5 separate regions of the Homo sapiens genome follow, and all the other regions are linked to region 1. The links are contacts of gene promoters, found by promoter capture Hi-C in human tissues and cell types (Jung and others, 2019). All regions are on one chromosome and are shown on one strand. The core of a region is centred on a gene start or on the middle of the fragment in contact, and the rest is flanking DNA. Distances in the headings are between cores, read along the strand shown. Region 1 holds the start of TMEM222 (transmembrane protein 222). Region 2 holds the start of FAM76A (family with sequence similarity 76 member A). Region 3 holds the start of FGR (FGR proto-oncogene, Src family tyrosine kinase). Region 4 overlaps FAM76A (family with sequence similarity 76 member A). Region 5 holds the start of NR0B2 (nuclear receptor subfamily 0 group B member 2).

Region 1 (2,700 bases), core at 98-2,597:
CCGCGCCTGTCCCAATATTTTATTTTTAAAGAACAGATTTGGATGCTCTTATATGCATAAGTACTTGAAAACACAAAATAATTCAAGTATTTTAACATAATTCAAAAACTACGATCTTTTTAGAATCAGCAACACCTAAGGCCCCAAATGATCCCTTCTCCACATCACCACTGGCTGTTATTGATAGCGGAACAAGCTATCCCATCAGGTGAGAGTGGATAAGATGTAGTGCAAAGAGCAAGTTAGATCAGAAGACTGAGCTCTTCATGCCTTTGCTTATTGGGGTGCGAACCTGATCAAGACACTTAATGCTACAAGCAGCTCAGCTTCACCATCTGAGAAGATAACCTACCTTAGAAAATGGATGTTTAATTCTGATAAAATGGGTGTTTAAGAGCTTGGCAAACTATCCAGCACGGTGAGGAGGGGTTACGTTTATCAGCTGTCAAGGTTGAAGCAGGAGGGCAAACCACCTCTCCCCATATGAGAGCTCCTCCCAAAAGGCGCCAAGTAGTACCAGAGCACCTGCTTCTCCCCTGACAAAGGCTGATGTTACAGAAAGAACTTTGGTCTGGGAGGCAGACAACCTGGGATCTAAACCCAGTTTGCAACTGAGATGGCACGTGAGACAAAGGGTTGGACTCTCAGATCTCTGGGGGCCCTTCCAATGTTGACATCCCAGGATCTCGTGTGGTCCCAACCAAACTCCCACTCTTGCTCCCAGACCCAGCAGTATGTCTGGAATATGGTAAGCGACCAGTAAGCATTTGCTCAATGAGAGAATAAACCAGTGAATTAATAAAAATGTCTCCTCAGATCCGATAAGGGGCTCCCTCTTCTACACACTCACAGCTCGAGTCTCCCAGCCACTTGCCCTTTCCTGCTGGCCTACAACTCTCTCCCTGGCTACACCAGGTGTATTGAGAGCAGGGAGCGTGTCCCAGCCGTGTGCACAAACTGGCACTACATGGATGGCGGGGTTCTGGTGACTGGGCGAGGCGTGCGGGCCAGACCCGAGGAAAAGGCTTGCTGCGCGTTGGGGCCGGAGGCTAGCCCGGCCCGACTCCGGCTCTCCCTGGGCCCTCCTCGTCCCCAGGCGGATGCCGGAAGAGACTCACGTGAGCACCGGGATGGGCGTCCACACCACGCAGTAGGGGAAGCGACTCCGTTCCACATCCATGGCGACGCCGCCGGAGCCTTGATATTGCTTCATGTCCGTCTCGGCCGCCGTCGGCGCCTCCACTTCCGCCATCCTGGGCGGGGGTGGCGGCGGCGGCAACAAGAGCAGAGAACTCCCTTCCGCTTCCGCCATGCGGCGCGCGCCCCGCTCCGACTGGCCCCGGCTCTGGTGCCGCTCGTCCCCATGGCGTCACTTCCCGGAGATGGGGTCCGCCCCGCTTGGCCTTCCCCCGGGAATCCGAGCCGCGTTCCTCTGGGCCCGGCCAGCCCCGCCCCACTCCCTATGCGCCTGCCAGCCCCGAGTCTTTGCCGCTTATGCCCCGCGGCTGCAGAAGGGATGCTCTCAGGCAGTTCGCAGTCTAGCGCCGGAGACTTATAGAGAACTCTAATTCAGTACGCTGAGGGCTCCTAGGAGGTGTGGTACAGTCGCTATTTATTGAGCACTTCTTAGGTGCCAAGCACTTGACATGAATTGTTTCTAATCCCCATAAACTAATTAGACATCCAAATTAGGTATTCCCTCCTGTTACAGGTGAGAAACTGAGGTTCAAAAGGTGAGAGACCACGATGCAAACCCAAGTCTTTTTTTTTTTTTTTTTTTCTGAGGCGGAATTTTTTCTCTTGTTGCCCAGGCTGGAGGGCAATGGCACAATCTCGGCTCACTGCAACCTCCACCTCCCAGGTTCAGGCGATCCTGCCTCGGCCTCCCGAGTAGCTGGGATAACAGGCGCGTGCCACCACGCCCGGCTAATTTTTGTATTTTTAGTAGAGGTGGCGTTTCACCATGTTAGCCAGGATGGTCTCAAACTCCTGACCCTGTGATCCGCCCGCCTTGGCCTCCCAAAGTGCTGGGATTACAGGCGTGAGCCACCGCGCCTGGCCCAAACCCAAGTCTTATACCTCCCTTGCCCTTTTCATTCTGTGGCCCTCTCACGAGGTAGTGGTAGCATAAAGGAAGACACACACAGTTGTGTGTGCGCACGTGTGTGTGTGTGTGTGTTTTATTGTATATACAGGGAAGACTTGCTGGAAGATAGGATATTATTGAGTTGAGTCTTGATGTTTGCCATGTGGCACAGGAGTGGAAGTATGAGTGCAGCGGTACAAAGAAAGGAAGGCCGTGCAGAGCAGTGTGTGCAAGAGTGTGAATACTTACTGGAGTAAATCATAAGCCTTAGATGTGATCCAATCCCTTCATTGTACAAATGGGAAAACGGGCTCAGGGAAGTTAATTGTTTGAGATCACACACAACCATAATTAGAGAGAAGCCAGGCTCAAATGTTGGAGACTTTTGGCTTTTTAAAGGATGTCAAGACAAAGAAAATGAAGTCTACTGGGGTCTACTGGGGTGGGGAGGGGAAGTTGGGGACAGCCCAAAGTCAGAAGGAAGGCTGCCACTAAAAATCAGCCTTAAAGAAAAAAAAAAAAGAATAAAAAGAGTAATCAGGTAAAGGAAGGTATGGACAAATGCACTCAGGAAGTTAGGAGCTTCCCATTTGGGGAAGGTCCTTCTTCCACTG
Region 2 (2,740 bases), core at 140-2,639, 400 kb before region 1:
TCTGGGCCTTATTTTTCTCCTCTGTAATACTGGCATCACTTCCCTACTGTTGATGTGGGAGTTAAGTAAGAACTTATATGGATTATATGGAACTAGCCATAAATTGTAAAACAAACATATATATGAACAAGTCCCAGACTGGGAATCAGAAGCCCTGAATTCCAGGCCTGGTTCTTCTGCCACTGTGTGATTTTGCGGTTTACTTGTGAAATGAAAGTGCTGGATTAAAATTATTATTTATATATACATAACTTCCTTAAAATCATATATACATATTTTGAGGCCAAAAAGGGCACTCAAGCACTTGCATTCCCCCAGACCTGGTATATAAAAACTGGCAAATGGAAAGTCATGACCATCTGAGGCAAAAGTGACAATTATGAGTTATCCAAATCAGAGACACAAACTGGATTATTGGATAACCTCAACATTATTCTTCAGCCAGTTTGGTGACTTTTTAACTGTTGCCTCACAGCACCTCTAGTCACTTAAAAAGTAAAAGTGGGATAAAGCAACTTAAAAGAAAAAGAGAAGTTGGACCTTCAGGAGCAAAAACTGATCAGCAGCTAGTCAGGGAAGACCGAAGACCACCAACTGGATGCTGAGAAGTGATCCCTCGGATCTGTGAGCCTGACTGTGGGGCTTTTTTAAAACATAAAGCCTTGCTGCCTCCGATTCTGAGACTGGCCGAAAAGTGAGATGCTTAAAAAAAAAAAAAAAATCAAGCCTTGCTACCTCCGATTCTGAAACTGGTCGAAAAGTGCCCGTGAGGAGCCCGAGTTCGACACATTCCTCCAAGGCAGCACCCAACTTTGGAGTTCAGTCCCAGGAGGGGCAGGAGGTCCCCACCAGGGAGACCGCGGCGGCGGGGGAGGCAGCGCAAAGGGATCCCGAAGGCGACCAGTCAGGGCAAGCAGGGGACCCGCTGTCCCTCCCCCGACCTCACGGGGTCCGAGAACAATCCCCACGGTTGCTAAGCACCCGGACACGCCGGCCGCGGGAGCCTGGACCGGGTCCCGGCTCCCGCACGTGCCCCGCCGGCCCCCAGCGGGGTGGGTGCGGCTCCTCAGCCTGGCGGGCCTGCCACACCCTGCTCCGGGGACCCCGCCGGGCGTCCCCACAGAATCTGGAGCTCCGGGCCGCGCCTCCTGCGTCCCCAGTTCCCGGCCGCCGCCCCAGCCCGCGCACCTTGCACAGCTGCTGCCCCTGAGACAGCGCCTCGAAGGGGAAGCGCTGGTGGCACTTGGTGCAGGCGTAGAGCGCCGCCATGTCCGGCCCGGGCCGCGCTCACCGACCCGCCGGCCCGGCCCGCCGATTTATCTGACAGTCTGAGGCACAACCCGGCGGCGGCTGCAGGCTGCTGGCTGCGGCAGGCGGGCGGGCGCAGGCGGGTCGGGGCGGACCCGGGCGGGCTGGGGCGGGCACGGCGACTCTAGACGCCCGCTCACTGGTGGGCTTTGACGTCGATCAAGTGGGAAGGGGCGGAACACGGAGCTTTCGCCCACTCTGATTCGGTCTGGCCTGGAGTACGCCACTGTGACGCTCCAGGCCGCGATTATGTAAAGCGCAGTCACGCGGGGGCGCCACCTGGAGGGGACAGGCTCCCGGCCGGGACCTCGGAAGAGCTTAGGCTCCGCCCTACTTGCTCAGCGTTCCCGCCCTCGCTCCGCCTCTCCACGGCCTCAGGCGCATCTGCGCTTCTCGCGATACCTTCGGGGATTTGTGATGTTTTGGTTTCCATGGAGCTGCCCTCTGGGAGCACGAGGGGTACAATTGGAACGAAGGCGGCGCACAGTTAACTGGAACTCTGCAGCCGTCCAAGCCCAAAGAAGGTGGGGAGCTTGGGAAAGAAGTTCCTCATAATCGGAGCAGGAGGAGCCCGCCCAGCCTCGCTCAAAGGAGGAGACGAGACTCTGAGGGACAATTTAGAAGTGTGTCCTCAATTTAAGACACCTAAATAGGGAACTGTGGGGCTGTGGGCCTTAGGAGAGAAAAGGAGAGCCCCAGAGAGAGCACCCCTATGCTGCGGAAGAGGGACTAAAGAGATGGCAGTCCTTCCAGGAGGGATTGGACAGATATTCAGGCGTCCGGTGGCCTGCAGGCCCCCATCAGAGTGGGCTGCAATTGGCCCAGACCTGCTTCCTACTTTGTTTTCTCCGGTTTCACCCCCAGCTTCTCTCGCAAGCAACCACCTGGTGATTCCTGACGAGGCCTGACTTCCGGAAGGCAAGCCACGCCCTCCGGGCTCCCCTGCCTCTCTTTGGCTCCAGCTTGGCATGTATAGGAGCTGCCCAAGGAATGACAGACTTCTTGTTCTTGAGGTGTTGGCAAAGCTTCCTGCACTGCTGACCTATCCAAGTCCTGCCTTGTAGCTGCTCTTGGGCATAGGTTACTCTTGGCTCTGCCAACCACCCGTACAGGACTAATTGCAGTTTTACCTCAACGTGCGCTTTTTACAATTAAAAACTGACTTAATGGCTTCTATTTCCCTGCCTCAACAAAAAAAATTTACTCTCTCTGAACCCAAATCTGGCTGCTTCCTTGTAGGATCCCCCAAAGATGTGCATTAATCATTAGGATCAGAAAGCAAAGTTTCCAAATCACTGTTCCACAACTAACTACATGACCTTGGATCTATCACTGAACTTCTCACGGCCTCGTTTTTCTCAATTGTACAATGAGGTCATTGTGAGAATCAAAACCAGTACATGAGTCGGGGCGGGATGGCTCACAACTGTAA
Region 3 (2,700 bases), core at 92-2,591, 310 kb before region 1:
CTATCAGACAGAGAGACTGGAACTGATAGAGGATGCTACCGTTTCTCTTTTTGTTTTTAAAAATCTTTTTCCACATGTTCTAAGATACTCAGTTTTTCTTCCTTTTTTTTTTTTTTTTTTTTTTTCTTGAGACGGAGTCTCGCTCTGTCGCCCAGGCTGGAGTGCAGTGGCGCCATCTCGGCTCACTGCAAGCTCCGCCTCCCGGGTTCACACCATTCTCCTGCCTCAGCCTCCTGAGTAGCTGAGACTACAGGCGCCCGCCACCACGCCCGGCTAATTTTTTGATTTTTAGTAGAGATGGGCTTTCACTGTGTTAGCCAGGACGGTCTTGATCTCCTAACATCGTGATCCACCCGCCTCGGCCTCCCAAAGTGCTGGGATTACAGGCGTGAGCCGCTGCACCCGGCCTTTTCTTTCTTTTTTTTAAAAAAAGTCATTTTCTGCAACAAAACCCACATTCTTTTTTTGTGTTTTTTTTTTTTAAGGCAGGGTCTTGCTCTGTCACCCAAGGTAGAGTGCAGTAGCTCAATCACAGCTCACTGCAGCCTCGACCTGCCTGACTCGAGGGATCCTTCCACCTCTGCCTCTGCAGTAGCTGGGACCACAGGTGCACACCACCACACCGAGCTAACTTAAGAAAAATTTTTTTTGGTAGAGATGGTGTCTCCCTATGCTGCCTAGGCTGGTCTGGAATTCCTGGGCTCAAGCAATCCTCCCACCCAACCTCCCAAAGTGCTGGGATTACAGGCTGAGCCACTGCCCCCAGCCAGTTACTCAGTTTTTCTAAAACTTGGGTGCCTGGGGGAGGCTGACACCCTTCCCACTCCTCTGAAAGGCAGTTTCCTAAGGGAAGGGTCTTCTGCTGCTCACCACCCTTAACAGCCCTGTGTCCCCAGTGCTCAGCCCCTGAGGAAGGGAAGGCGTGCTGACAGGGTCCATGTGATCCATGTCCAGTGGCTCTGGTGACAGCAGTCTGAAGTCAACTGGCTGTGAGAACTCGAGTAAGGCCAGTCCCGATCTGGTCCTCAGTGATGGAGAAAAGCCCCTCTTAACCTCCAATTCAATGATCCTAAAAGAGCAGGTGCTTCGGGGGTGCTGAAACTGCGCTTTTGGAGGGGGCTTTTGGGAAGGCCGGGCTGGGGACTCAGGTCTGGAGGGTGACAGAGCCGACCTCCCGTAAACCAGGGAGGAGGAAGGTGGGGGCGGGTGGGCCTAGGATCTGGGGGCGCCTCCTCGCTGCGGGGAGCTGGCTTGGGGCTAGGGCGTGACTGTCTCCCTGCCACCATCACCGCCCGCCGGCCGTGACTGCAATAAGAGAAGTCCGAGGCGGCTTCCTCCTCCCTGCCCAGCAGGGGCGGCGGTCAGAGGCGGGCAGCACCCCAGTTCTCCCCGCACGCCGGCACTCGCGGCTGCTGGAGCCCCGGCTGGCTCACCCCGGGGCCGGGCAGAATTGGGCTCCAGGTAAGCGACAGCGTCGGGTGGGGACTGGGCAGGTCAAGCAGTGCCCTCCCCCTCGAGGCTCTGGAGAGAGGACTGGGGGTACACGGGAAGAGAAGCCTGAACCTGGGGGTCGGGGGACACATGAGCAAGGTGACAGCCAAAGGGACCCCAGCCCGAAAAGGCCTAAGGAGGAAAACGGGCGACCTGAAAAGCAAGGCTGATAAACCTGGAGGAGAGGGCGGAGGGGAGCACGGGGGAAGCCGACCAAAGGGACCCCCAAAAAGGTCTAGTGGGTAAAATGGAGGGGACTGATAAGAGTTTAGGAAGGGGGCTGAGGTGGGGGAGAAGGATTAAGGGGAATCCCCAGGACGGTCTGGGGGAGAAACTGAAGGGATCGTGAGAGTGGGACTTTGGGGAGAAGCCGACGGGTCTGATGGGTCCAGGAGAGGGGAAATGGGTGGGGGTGCTGGAGGGAACAGGAGAGGGAGCTGGCGGGAAGGGGGTTGAGGAGAACGACTTCTGGAGGACGGAGAACCTGGGGTGCAATTGCGGGTCCAGGAAGTTCCCCTCTTCCGAGCCGGCCGAAGTCGGGGTGAAGCCCACAGCCCGCAGGGTAACGTTAGCGGCCGCGACCGCGGCCCCGCGACCCTCTCGGCCCGCCCTTGCGGTAGGTTCCGGGCTGCAGGGGACTCCTGCCGGGCGCGCGAGGCGTGGGTCCCCGCTTCCTGGGGAAGTCCCCGCCCTCGGCAGGGACAGGCCTCTCCGGGCGCCCCCTCCGCGCCCGCGGCGGTCTCGGCCCGCGCTCCCCGCTGGATCCGGGAATTGCTGCCGCCCCGACGGAAATCCTGCCTTTGACCGCGAGTGCCCGCAGGGGCTGCCTCCAAGGCAACGAGAGGGCGGGCCGCGCTGGGCCGCCGCGGGGCTCCGGGTGGGCGCAGCCCCCTTTGCTCTCCGCCTTCGCCCCCTTTTGGAATCCTCGGTCTGGTGGGTGGGGGGTGGGCTTCCCGACCGAGGTAGGAGGCGATGCCGCTGTGTTCAGGGATCCTGGGGTGGAGGATCTGCTGTTTGAGAGACCTGGGTTCTTAGCAAGACTGGGCCCTTAATTGCTGTGTGACTGTGGGCAAGTTACAGGGCTTCTCTGGGCCTCACTTTCCTCATCTGAACTATGGTGAGAAATGATCCTTGTGTCCACTCTTCCCCCACGAGAATCAGGTGCAGAAAGCAGTTTTTGCTGAGTGTCCTGAAGGGTTAAGGGCTATC
Region 4 (2,700 bases), core at 26-2,525, 440 kb before region 1:
GTCTATAAGCAAGACAAACTTTTCTAGGCTGAAGGGCTGAAGGGGATAACGGGGTATGTCTACTGGTAAACAGCAAGAAATAAAAACAAAATCCAACAATTACACTTGAGTCAATATGAATTTTTATTAACACACATTTGTCAAAGTCTGTACAAACCAAAACATTCCTGTGTTTTAAAATGTCCATTATTACAAACATACAAAGAAACAAAAGGTGTTACCAAAAGTTAGCTACTCAATTTCATGGTAAAACAGTGTCATGATTTTTAAAAATCAAAATTTCAAGACTGAGGTTTCTTCTTTCCCTTTTTGGAACTTATGGAAAGTTAGAAAACGTGTGAATTTGCTTTATATTAAATGCCAAGACCTTAAAAAAAGATTTAGTATAAAACTAAGTATGTTTTTATATTGTCATACATCATGTAACAGAATTTCAGTCCTTAAAATTAAAAAAAAACACCATGACTGTCATTTCCCCCTAATTTTTCTCCCATAGTCAATGCAAATGCATCTGAAAAATATTATGACAGTTTATCTTTACCTAAAAGCTTCTCATTCAAAAACTTTACAAAACTATTTAGCACTGCCATTTCCCTTGCTTAGAAGGGAAAATTATATCCCCTAGTAGGGTGATATATAAGCGACATGGTCCACTGTATCCCTTATCAGAAGGAAACCACCATTTCCACATCTCTGTCCAATTATGTGTAGGACTCCATTTATGAGAATGCTATCACAAATTATAGAGCATCTGCTTCCAGGAAACGCCTAGAAGTTAAATTTAGTACTATAATTTTTTGGTAGACTGAGGTACAAATGTTATCTGCCCTCATTATTATTTCTAACTCTAGTACCCCCTGCATAAATGATTCTAGGGTAGTTGGTTTTGTTGTTTCATGGCACACATGACACACCCTAATTCCTTTCACAAACATCACATAGAGGACCTGAGAGTATGCCTAGAAATGTAAATCTATCCCCTTTCCTGGAAAAGTAAATCCATATTCCTACAGGGTTAAGAAGGGAAGATAGGCAGGGCATACATAACTCTGGTTGAGGCAAAGTGCTTCTGAGAAGCACCTGTTTTCAATACATATCCATGAAAAGCAGGGAGTGTATGGGCTCGGGTGGGTGAGGAGTGGGGAGAAGGTATAGTGATACCACTTTTCCCAGACTCAAGAGTCCTTACTAGAGCAGCTCATGCTGACCCCAAAAATGCTCTGTAGTTCAAATATTATTCCTTTTTTTTTTTTTTTTGAGACGGAGTCTCACTCCATTGCCCAGGCTGCAGTGCAGTGTTGCGATTTCAGCTCATTGCAACCTCTGCCTCCCGGGATTCGAGCAGTTCTCCTGCCTCAGCCTCCTGGGTAGCTGGGATTACAGGTGCATGCCACCAGGCCCGGCTAATTTTTGTATTTTTTTAGTACAGATGGGGTTTTACCATGTTGGCCAGGATGGTCTCAAACTCCTAACCTCAAATGATCCACCCGCCTTGGCCTCCCAAATTGCTGGTATTACAGGCGTGAGCCACCGCACCCGACCATATTATTCCATTTTTAATCTGTTCATTCATGTAAAAAAACATTCTCTGACAGCAGCCCAGTATGACAACTGATATAAGCAAATAAAGGATTTTATTTTTTAAAGAAGTGGCAGTGTGAGAATTTAAAATCAATCACATAAAACAATCAGGAAAGGGGTGGGGAGAGAAGTGTCCAGTACAACCTGGACAACCTTGCTTTCTGCCCTTACTTAAAAAGACAGACGGTTCAAATCTTTGCTACCTCCCTTAAGTATCTCCATAAATGCTCTTCCAAGAAATCCTCCAAAAGGCACTTAGCTCCATACTTATGCATTGAATTGTTTCACCTTAGCAATCAGTTTTTAAGACTCCAAGGTAACAAGAAAGAAAAGATCTGATTCTTTTACTAAAAGCTAGTGAATAGGACTGTTTTTTTTTCAAGAGGCATCACTTTTACAAGAACTAGCTAGACCACCATTATTCCTTTATCAAGAAAAAGTTTCTTTTTTAAAAAATAAATAAAACTCTGGCTATACATAGTACAAAGTTCATACATAATACATCTGGAAAAAAACCGAAGAGTATACCCTGAAGCAAAAGGTTTATTGGAGAGAGAAAGCCTCTTCCATTATACCAAGTCTGAAGATGGCAGTTTTCAAAGTTCAGAGGGTGGCAGTGATATATAATTAATGCCAAACTGTTTGCTCATGGGTATGGCAGGATGCAATGAAGGACCAAAAAAAAAAAAAAAAACAAAAAACAAATCATTCTGCACATTACACTGAGCAGTGACCACCACAAAAAAAAAAAAAAAAAAAAAAAGAAAAAAGAAAAAAAAAGAATAGAACCAAAATAGAGAGAAGAGGAAGAAGAAAAAGAAAAGTCCTAATAGTGAGAGAAAGAGAGCGAGCTTGAAATCCCAAACACTCAAGCATGCAGTCTAACACAGCACAAACCAGGTGTTTCCATTCAGCCCACTGCAATCGCACAAAGAAGGATAACTGTAATAAAATAGAGATTTCTTAAGAAAGCTTGCAATTCCCACAGAACAGCCAGGTCTCCAACCCTAACCCTGGACAACTCCATTTGCTGTTGCTAGGGAGCCTCCTTGAGGTCTGTCATGGAGAGGTTATAGCTCCTGACTTCTCTGACTTCTTGCTCTTGGACAAAGCAGCTGC
Region 5 (2,700 bases), core at 127-2,626, 410 kb after region 1:
GGCAGCAGCAAGGTGGGGGCAGCTAGCCACAAGCTCTGAGAATCTCAGGCTCTGGCTGTGCAATTGGGCCAGTGGGTCCAGGGAAACAAACAAGGACTTTGGAGTCAGGCAAGATCTGGGCTTTGTCTTCCTGGTGGGATGACCTTGGGCAAGTCACTTTAGCTTTTTTAGTCTCATAAAGTAAGAATCTAGCCTTAGGAAGAGGCTGCCAATATTAGAGTGGGAAGTGCCTGACACATAATAAGTGCTTAGAGAATGGCAACCATATATATACATATATATATATATATATGTATGTATGTATGTGTATATATATATACACATATACATATAAATATACATATACATATACATATACATATACATATACATATATATTTTTTTGAGACAGGATCTTGCTCTGTTGCCCAGGCTGGAGAGCAGTGGCATGATCTCAGCTCACTGTAACCTCTGCCTCCCAGTTTCGAGTGATTCTTTTGCCTTAGCCTCTAGAGTAGCTGGGACTACAGGCACATGCCACCATGCCCGGCTAATTTTTGTATTTTTAGTAGAGACGGGATTTTGCCATGTTGGCCAGGCTGGTCTTGAACTCCTGACCTCAAATGATCCCCCTTCCTCAGCCTCCCAAAGTGCTGGGATTACAGGCATGAGCCACCGTGCCCGGCTGGCAACTATCTTTTATTATAATTCTGTGAGTTCTTCTCAGCAGACCTGGCCTTTCAGGAGTGGTAGGAATCAGGCTGGGGATAAGGATTCTGAAGGACCTTATTCCTGCAGGGGGCCCAGAACTGGAATCAGAGGAGGAGGCCTCCTAGATTGGACAGTGGGCAAAGTCCTCCCAGCCCCCAGGGTCCTGGCTCCCTTCCCTGTAGCCTGCTTCTGGCTGACAACAGAAGCAGGGCCCCAAGGTTAGGCAAACAAGCTAGTGATAAGGCACTTCCAGGTTGGGCCTTGCATTCAAGGCCCACCCAGCTCTGGGGCTGGCTTCCTGGCTTAGCAAAAGCCCTAGTCTTTTGTGCACACAAGAGCGGGCACCAATGGGGACACCTGCTGATTGTGCACCTGGGGCCTTGGTGCCCTGGTACAGCCTGAGTTAATGACCTTGTTTATCCACTTGAGTCATCTGATAAGGGGCAGCTGAGTGAGCGGCAGGTGGCCCTGTGCCCTGCACCGGCCACTTCATTGACTGAGGTGATATCAGTGCCACGTGGGGTTCCCAATGCCCCCTCCCCCACCACTTCCCCACCATTCCTGCCAGGGGCAATGTCTGTGTGTTTTTTTCAATGAACATGACTTCTGGAGTCAAGGTTGTTGGGCCATTCCCCCCGTTCCACTCACTGGGAATATAAATAGCACCCACAGCGCAGAACACAGAGCCAGAGAGCTGGAAGTGAGAGCAGATCCCTAACCATGAGCACCAGCCAACCAGGGGCCTGCCCATGCCAGGGAGCTGCAAGCCGCCCCGCCATTCTCTACGCACTTCTGAGCTCCAGCCTCAAGGCTGTCCCCCGACCCCGTAGCCGCTGCCTATGTAGGCAGCACCGGCCCGTCCAGCTATGTGCACCTCATCGCACCTGCCGGGAGGCCTTGGATGTTCTGGCCAAGACAGTGGCCTTCCTCAGGAACCTGCCATCCTTCTGGCAGCTGCCTCCCCAGGACCAGCGGCGGCTGCTGCAGGGTTGCTGGGGCCCCCTCTTCCTGCTTGGGTTGGCCCAAGATGCTGTGACCTTTGAGGTGGCTGAGGCCCCGGTGCCCAGCATACTCAAGAAGATTCTGCTGGAGGAGCCCAGCAGCAGTGGAGGCAGTGGCCAACTGCCAGACAGACCCCAGCCCTCCCTGGCTGCGGTGCAGTGGCTTCAATGCTGTCTGGAGTCCTTCTGGAGCCTGGAGCTTAGCCCCAAGGAATATGCCTGCCTGAAAGGGACCATCCTCTTCAACCCCGGTGAGCTCCCAGACACTCCTGGGTGGGGGGCAAGGCTGAAGCAGGGGCCAGCCAGGGAAGGTAGCTTCTAAGGGTTTGATATCTGTTATCTCATTGGGTCCTCATTTTCTTTTTATTTTTCTGAGACAGAGTCTCACTCTGTCACCCAGTCTGGAGTGCAGTGGTGCGATCTTGGCTCACTGCAACCTCTGCCTCCTGGGTTCAAGCAATTTTCTCTGCCTCAGCCTCCCGAGTAGCTGGGATTACAGATGGCCGCCACCACTCCCGGCTAATTTTTGTACTTTTTAGTAGAGATGGGCTTTCACCATGTTGATCAAGCTGGTCTTGAACTCCTAACCCCTCAGGTGATCCACCCACCTTGGCCTCCCAAAGTGCTGGGATTACAGGCGTGAGCCACCGTGCTTGGCCAGTCCTCATTTTCATCAAATAGCCATCTCACAGAAGAGGCACAGAGAAGCTAAGTGACTAGCTAAAGGTAACACAGCCAGGTAGGGACAGACCAGGATGGCAACTCAGGTCTATTCACTCCAGAGACTGGCCCTTGCCACTCTGCCTGAGAAATTTGCTCTGACCTTTACAGAAGGCTGTGGGGAGGTGGGGTGGGCAGACACAGCTGTGTCTCAGTCACATCCTCAAAGGAAGGCTGCATGGTGAAGCTCTAGAGCTAAAACTCCTCTGTGGGTTCAGAAAGATCACATAGAAGAGATGACTGAAAGGGGCGTAGGGAGGACAGGAAAGGAGTCTTTATGGAATTCGGC

The links. Contacts are between HindIII fragments. The study calls those that stand out against the background at their distance.
Region 2: a contact is called between the fragment with the promoter of FAM76A here and the fragment with the promoter of TMEM222 in region 1, in 1 of the 25 tissues and cell types used here (IMR-90 fibroblasts).
Region 3: a contact is called between the fragment with the promoter of FGR here and the fragment with the promoter of TMEM222 in region 1, in 6 of the 25 tissues and cell types used here (IMR-90 fibroblasts, liver, lymphoblastoid cells and 3 more).
Region 4: a contact is called between a fragment that was not itself captured here and the fragment with the promoter of TMEM222 in region 1, in 3 of the 25 tissues and cell types used here (dorsolateral prefrontal cortex, mesendoderm cells and pancreas).
Region 5: the fragment with the promoter of NR0B2 here is called in contact with the fragment with the promoter of TMEM222 in region 1 in 1 of the 25 tissues and cell types used here (aorta).

What each region holds. Positions count from the first base shown.
Region 1 is chr1:27,320,810-27,323,509 of GRCh38, reverse strand. It overlaps TMEM222 (transmembrane protein 222), which reads right to left and starts at 1,347. Exons shown (of 6, transcript NM_032125.3): 1 at 1,119-1,347. The coding sequence starts at 1,312. RefSeq lists enhancers at 292-838, 990-1,339, 839-1,386, 1,387-1,933. The HindIII fragment of the contact is 11,672 bases long and covers 1-2,700 here.
Region 2 is chr1:27,724,610-27,727,349 of GRCh38, reverse strand. FAM76A (family with sequence similarity 76 member A) reads right to left here and starts at 1,389. Exons shown (of 9, transcript NM_152660.3): 1 at 1,189-1,389. The coding sequence starts at 1,269. RefSeq lists silencers at 865-1,564, 1,403-2,045. The HindIII fragment of the contact is 12,090 bases long and covers 1-2,740 here.
Region 3 is chr1:27,633,826-27,636,525 of GRCh38, reverse strand. It overlaps FGR (FGR proto-oncogene, Src family tyrosine kinase), which reads left to right and starts at 1,341. Exons shown (of 13, transcript NM_005248.3): 1 at 1,341-1,461. RefSeq lists a silencer at 2,216-2,265. The HindIII fragment of the contact is 29,896 bases long and covers 1-2,700 here.
Region 4 is chr1:27,760,522-27,763,221 of GRCh38, reverse strand. It overlaps FAM76A (family with sequence similarity 76 member A), which reads right to left. Exons shown (of 9, transcript NM_152660.3): 9 at 106-2,700. The coding sequence ends at 2,641. Among named protein-coding and RNA genes, the nearest start is that of STX12, 11 kb to the left of the region's middle. The HindIII fragment of the contact is 6,157 bases long and covers 1-2,700 here.
Region 5 is chr1:26,912,651-26,915,350 of GRCh38, reverse strand. It overlaps NR0B2 (nuclear receptor subfamily 0 group B member 2), which reads left to right and starts at 1,376. Exons shown (of 2, transcript NM_021969.3): 1 at 1,376-1,942. The coding sequence starts at 1,411. It also overlaps a transcript of NUDC not described here. The HindIII fragment of the contact is 33,061 bases long and covers 1-2,700 here.